Regions from separate parts of the Homo sapiens genome. Here region 1 is linked to region 2. The links are contacts of gene promoters, found by promoter capture Hi-C in human tissues and cell types (Jung and others, 2019). All regions are on one chromosome and are shown on one strand. Each heading gives the region's core, a stretch centred on a gene start or on the middle of the fragment in contact. The rest is flanking DNA. Distances are from core to core; before and after follow the strand shown.

The links. Contacts are between HindIII fragments. The study calls those that stand out against the background at their distance.
Region 1: a contact is called between a fragment that was not itself captured here and the fragment with the promoter of BTN3A1 in region 2, in 2 of the 25 tissues and cell types used here (neural progenitor cells and small bowel).

The regions. Positions count from the first base shown.
Region 1 is chr6:26,352,194-26,355,460 of GRCh38, forward strand. It overlaps the pseudogene LOC124901520. Among named protein-coding and RNA genes, the nearest start is that of BTN3A2, 11 kb to the right of the region's middle. The HindIII fragment of the contact is 5,027 bases long and covers 1-3,267 here.
Region 2 is chr6:26,401,025-26,404,153 of GRCh38, forward strand. It overlaps BTN3A1 (butyrophilin subfamily 3 member A1), which reads left to right and starts at 1,251. Exons shown (of 10, transcript NM_007048.6): 1 at 1,251-1,388. RefSeq lists an enhancer at 1,159-1,218. The HindIII fragment of the contact is 20,018 bases long and covers 1-3,129 here.

The sequences.
Region 1 (3,267 bases), core at 627-3,126, 48 kb before region 2:
GGGCCTCATTCAAAGCTGGTGGCTTTGTTGGTCACCCTGACTTAGGGGACCAAAAGAACACTCAGGTGGGGTACATGTTGCCTCCAATGCCCAAGTACCCAAAGAGGCCTTCCAGCTGTTGGGCCTCCTTTTTATTAGTGGATGTCTCCAAAATTAAATTTTTTTGCTTGGTTGTATCTAGAATACTTTTCTGGCTTACTGCCCATGTGGCCTTCGCATTTAGCCCAGGGACAGTCCACTGTTAGTCTCCACATCCGAAAGCCTTTTTGACTAGCCAAACTGAGCTGTTACATTATGACAGGGTAGTTTGTAGCATTTCCATTTGTAACAATAATTAACACAATAATGTCCTGTTCTTCAGTTAGTATGCAGTACTGTTTTTTTGAATAACCCACTGGGACTTGGGTGGCTTAGGTGGCAGACAGGCATGGATATGCCCCGCCGTAACGGCTGGAATTCTTAGCTGTGAGCGGGCGCACCCCTCAGGCAGTGATGATGTGCTGAGCCCCAAGCAGCCAAAATGTCAATGACTATAAGACATTCAGCCACAGGAACCAAAGTCACCGGCACCTCAAATGGCCAGAGGCACCCCACAGCAGATAAGCACCATAGGTCACTGCTTTTGTCCCCAAGCCTCTTAATGTCACCAGTTTAATTTTTCCCTTAAGGAGACCTGGAAATATTGTCACATGGGTTCCAATATCTAAGAACACCAGAAAAATATGAATTCCTTTTTCCCCCTTTTTATCTTTTAAAGGAATATTATTAATTTTAAAAGCAGGGACCATGCTAATCATCTCTATATCATTCCAATTTCAGTATATGTGCTGCTGAAGCAAGCATGTCTTTTTTTTTTTAATTTTTAAATTTTAAATTTTATGAGCACATAGTAAGTGGATATATTTAATAGGTACGTGAGACATTTTGGTACAGGACGCAATCTGTAATAATCACATCATGGAAAATGGGGTATCCATCCTTTCAAGCATTTATCCTTTGTGTTAAAAACAATCCAATTATACTCTTAGTTATTTTAAAATGTACAATTAAGATATTATTGACTATAGTCTTCCTGTTGTGCTGTCAAACATTAGGTCTTTTTCATTCTTCTGTTTTTTTTTGTTTTTTTTTTTGTTTTTTTCTTTTTTCAGATGGAGTTTTGCTCTTGTTGCCCTGGCTGGAGTGCAATGGCATGGTCTCGGCTCACTGCAACCTGCGCCTCCCGGGTTCAAGTGATTCTCCTGTCTCAGCCTCCTGAGTAGCTGGGATTATAGGCACACACCACCATGCCTGGCTAACTTTTGTATTTTTAGAAGAGACAGGGTTTCACCATGTTGGCCAGGCTGATCTTCAACTACTGACCTCAGGTGATCCACCCGCCTCAGCCTCTCAAAGTATTGGGATTACAGGCACGAGCCACCACATCCGGCCCTTTTTCATTAACCATCCCCACCTCCTCTCCCGCTTCCTCCCACTTCCACTACCCTTCCAAGCCTCTGGTAACCATCCTTATATTCTCTTATCTCCATGAGTTCAATTGTTTTGATTTTTAGATCCTGCAAATAACTGAGAACATCCAAAGTTTGTCTTTCTGTTCCTGGCTTATTATAAGAACTCCTGTTTTATCTTGACAGGAATATAGAGTGACTGACCTCCAGTGGGGAGGAAACCAGAGACCGTGGCCCCATTCCCAACTGGGCCATTCAGCCTGAGACATTTGGATTTGATAGAACCTCTTTGATAGAACCATGGCTTATTGATGAAGTGGAAGGAGTGATACCCGAAGTACCCAGCCCACGGTGTAGACATCAACCTACAGGGGTGCGGAAGCTGGACACACCACCCAGCCTGCACAAGATTTAGCTGGCTATTCTCCATTTTTATTCTTTGGATAATGAGTTTCTGCTCTGTAAATGCCCTTATGAACTGTGTTTGGTTCCCTCTCAGATGCCTCAGGGACCACCAGAGGACCTCTTCCTCTTCCCTCTCAGGGTTCTCAGGGATCAACTGAGTATCCATTTCCTGAGTTCTCTAGCTCTCGGGAATGAACAACCATACAAGTGTCCAACAATCAGAGGGTGGCTTGCCACTGTCCTATTCTATATTTCTTTCTCTCTGCCCCAGTCAGTGCAGCCAGCTCACTCATATCCGCAGGGTTGGGGGTGACCTATGTCCTGTTTACAAAAAGAGTCAAACTGTAAAACATTTGAAGAGATTTATTCTCAGCCAAATATGAGTGACCAATGGCCTGTGACACAGCCCTCAGGAGATCCTGAAAACATGTGCCCAAGGTGATCGGGGCACAGCCAGGTTTTATAGAGTTTAGGGAGGCATGAGACATCAATCAAACACATGTAAAAAATTCATTGGTTGGGTCTGGAAAGGCAGGACAACTCGAAGCTGAGAAAGGGTGGTGGGGTGAGGGTGTGGCTTCCTGGTTATAGGTAGATTTAAAATTTTGTGATTGGCAACTGGTTGAAAGAGTTATTATCAATAGGAAGGAATGTCTGGGTTATAATGATAAGGGGTTGTGGAGAACAAAGCTTTATTATGCAGATGAAGCCTTCAGGTAGCAGGCTTCAGAGAGAATAGATTGTAAATATTTCTTGTCAGACTTGAGGTATGTGTTGATGTTAATGCTGGTCAGCTTTTCCTGAAAGCCAAACTTGAGTGGGGTATAATTGGCCCTTCTTTCCTGTCATGACCTGAACCAGATAATCAGGTAAACTTTGGAATGCCCTGGCCAAGAGGAAAGGTCCATTCAGATGGTGAGAAGGCCTTCAAATTTTATTGTTGGCTTATAATCTCACCTCTCATTCTTCCTTTTATAAATCATCTGGCTGCTTGTCCAGCTCCTGCACACCTCTAGGTTGATGTCTACACCCTGGGCTGGGTACTTCGGGGTATCATTCCTTCCACTTCATCAATAAGCCATGGTTCTATCAAAGAGGGCCCTGCTCACTTCACCAATTTTGTGAACCAGATTCACCATGCACTGGTGAATTTTGTGAACCTGCCTGAGCCTGGTGAGACAGAAGACACTCACATGCAACAAGTTACATGAAGCAAATGTATTACTTACAGATAGGAAGCAAGAGACAACAGAAGACTAGAATTCATTATGTGCCAGTTTCCCAAGGCTTATGAAAGCTGCCTTGGGTGGATGGAGCTTCAATTGCACATGGCCTACTGTTGTTGCAGCTGAGGGGCCCCAAAAGCAGCTTACCCCAGGCTCAGTACCTCAGGGGCCACAGGAATCACTGGGTA
Region 2 (3,129 bases), core at 1-2,500:
TCTACCAGATGGAAAAGAACGTTGTAGTACCTAAGAAAATTAGGCCTTATCACCAAGAAGAAAGGGGGAATGCATGATGCAGAAGGGACCAGCCATCTCAATCAGATACTACACAGTCTAAATTCAAACATTTACAATATAATTAAATTGCATCAGCCCCAGTCACATCTTAGCCTTAGGAACTTCGATCATTGACTTGCAATCCCAGAAAGTCTGTTTTGAGGTCCTAGGCCACAGGAAGAACCAATTTGTTTTATAGACATCTTACAGAGACAGCATTCACAGTTTATCTAGAGTCTGGCCTCAGAGAATATGTACTCCACTGGCAGCAGGAGAAACAAATACACAGGAAAATACAGTGTAGCACAGAACAGGAGCTGAGGGTGAATGGAGATGCTCAGAAACACCTGCACTAAAAATTTGCTGAAAAAGGTAAAACGTGTCAAGCAGCACTGCCTCTGGAAGCCAGAAAAATTACATTTTTTGATAACAGATCCTAAGCCTGGATGCTGGAGGTGCTTAAAAATGTGCATTGTGGGCCGGGTGCAGTGGCTTAAGCCTGTAATCCTAGCACTTTGGGATCTGAGGAGGGAGGATCACTTGAGCTCAGGAGTTTGAGACCAGCCTGGCCAATATGGCAAAACCCTGTCTCTACTAAAAATACAAAAAGTAGCCGGGCATGGGGCGAGCACCTGTAATCCCAGTTATTCAGGAGCTGAGGCAGGAAAATCACTTGAACCTGGGAGGCGAAGGTTGCAGTGAGCCAAGATCCTGCAACTGCACTCCAACCTGGGTGACAGAGTGAAACTCCGTTTCAAAAAAAAAGTGCATTGTGTCTGGTTTTCTTTCCATTCATACGTTTATTTGACTCTGTAGTAAAATCTCCTCCTCCTCCATGTACCCATATTCATGCAAGCAAATGTTAGCAAACTGCCACAGTAGCATTTTAATTAGTGCTCATCTTTCTCTCTTCACCACATTAAAATCTTTTCCCATTGTGTTCTGCTGATATTTCTATTATGATAAAAGACTTAAGACAAGTGACTATATAGAAATACGTATATACACACAAGAATGAAAGAGATAAACAGTAAGGGAGGTAGGGCAGGAATTTTTCTTCAACGTGTACAATTCAATGTACTTTCAGTTTTCATTTCAGCCTTCCTCAGTGGTTTCTGCCCAGCAACTGATGAGAAACATCACCTCTGAGCCAATCAAAAAACTTATTCTTCCAAAGAGAGATTGTTATTATTCCTCACGATGACCCGACAGTCTCTGCTTTCTTTTTCCTTTCTTCCAGAAGGAGATTTAACCATAGTAGAAAGAATGGAGAACTATTAACTGCCTTTCTTCTGTGGGCTGTGATTTTCAGAGGGGAATGCTAAGAGGTGAGTGGGGGAAGTCGATTAGAGCCTGGTTCACAATGCCTGGGAGGACAGGGGCTGAATCGCTGAGAGTGGTGAGTGGGCATGCAGGGAGAGTACTCACCCAGAGAAAGGGGTGTGTGCCTGAGGGGGTGCGCACGCACACATGTGGACACATGGAAAGGGGAGAAGTAGTGCAAAGAATAAAGACCTGCAGAGTTTGGGATTTGGTGAAGAAATAGTCTAATTGCATGTTCTTAAGAACGTATTGTAGTCAGAAAAGGGCAAACAATCTTTAAAATCTGTTCTGGACAACTCAAGGCATCTATTCTAAGAGATTCTAAAAAGAGGTGTCCTTTATAGATTCATATGTAAATTTGTTCATTACAGAAGTATTAAAAATGTAGAAAAACCTGAACCAGCATACATATACAACAGGCGGGGGATAGACAAACAATGCATGGTTCAATCATAAAAGAGATTTCCATGCAGCCTTTAGGAATCGTGTTTTTAATGAAGGGCAATTATTTATAATTTTAGCAATGTTAGATCCATACATTAAACCTTGTTTTAAAATCTTTTAGGAACAGTATGTGTTTTTCCTTTTATTCATCATTTCCCCCAAACCTAACGAATGCTATCCAATGGATACAATCTATTTCATTGTATGAATATACAATTTTTTTGTTTGTTTTGAGATGCAGTCTTGCTCTATCACCCAGGCTGGAGTGCAGTGGCATGTTCTCGGCTTACTGCAGCCTCTGCTTCCTGGGTTCCAGTGATTCTCCTGCCTCAGTCTCCTGGGTAGCTGAGATTACAGGTGCACGCCACCACACCCAGCTAGTTTTTGTATTTTTAGTAGATTCGGAGTTTCGCCATATTGTCTAGGCTGGTCTCAAACTCCTGACCTCAGGTGATCTGCCCACCTCAGCCTCCCAAAGAGCTGGGATTACAGGCGTGAGCCACCACACCCAGCCTTTAAAATTATTTTTAAACACTTCCCTAGTTTGGACTATTTCTCTTTTCTGCATTTGGCTATTGTAGATTTTACTGTATTGAGCAGCCTAAAACATAAATTTTTGTCTTAGTTCCTGATTTTCTTTTTTCTGCAACACTAATTCCTACAAGTGGAACATTTGGGTCAAAGCACACACCTTTTTTTTTTCTTTTAATAGCCATTCCTTAGCAAAGCATATAACTTTTTTTAAGGCCCTTTATATATATATGGTCAAAATACTTCCAGAAATATTTACCTTTTCACTACCAAAGTATATGACTACTACTATAGATATTTTATTTTATTTATTGATTGATTTGTAGAGATGGGGTTTCATTATGTTGACCAGGCTGGTCTTGAATTCCTGGGCTCCAGGGATCCTCCCATCTCAACTTCCCAAATTGCAAGGATTACAGGCATGAACCACTACTTAAACTTGTATTCCTTTATGCTTTTTTTCATTTGCAATATTGACTATAATCAGGAAAAAAAATATATCCTTTATGAAGAAGAAAAACTTATGTCTCATTCTAAGGACAGCAGAGAAATTGTTAACTCAGGGAAAATGATAATAAAAATGATACCCCCTCTATAGCAACATAAAGAGCAGTTTCGAGGAGCAAAAGATGTGGTGAAATGCATTGTTTACTCTGGGTGGGTGCAAGATCCAGGCAGGGGTGAAGCATGGCCGGCTGCACAGATCTCTGTTCTCTTGTTTCCTTTACATCCCTCCCCACCTCCCTCTGCAGATCTTGTTCTCAGAGGCCA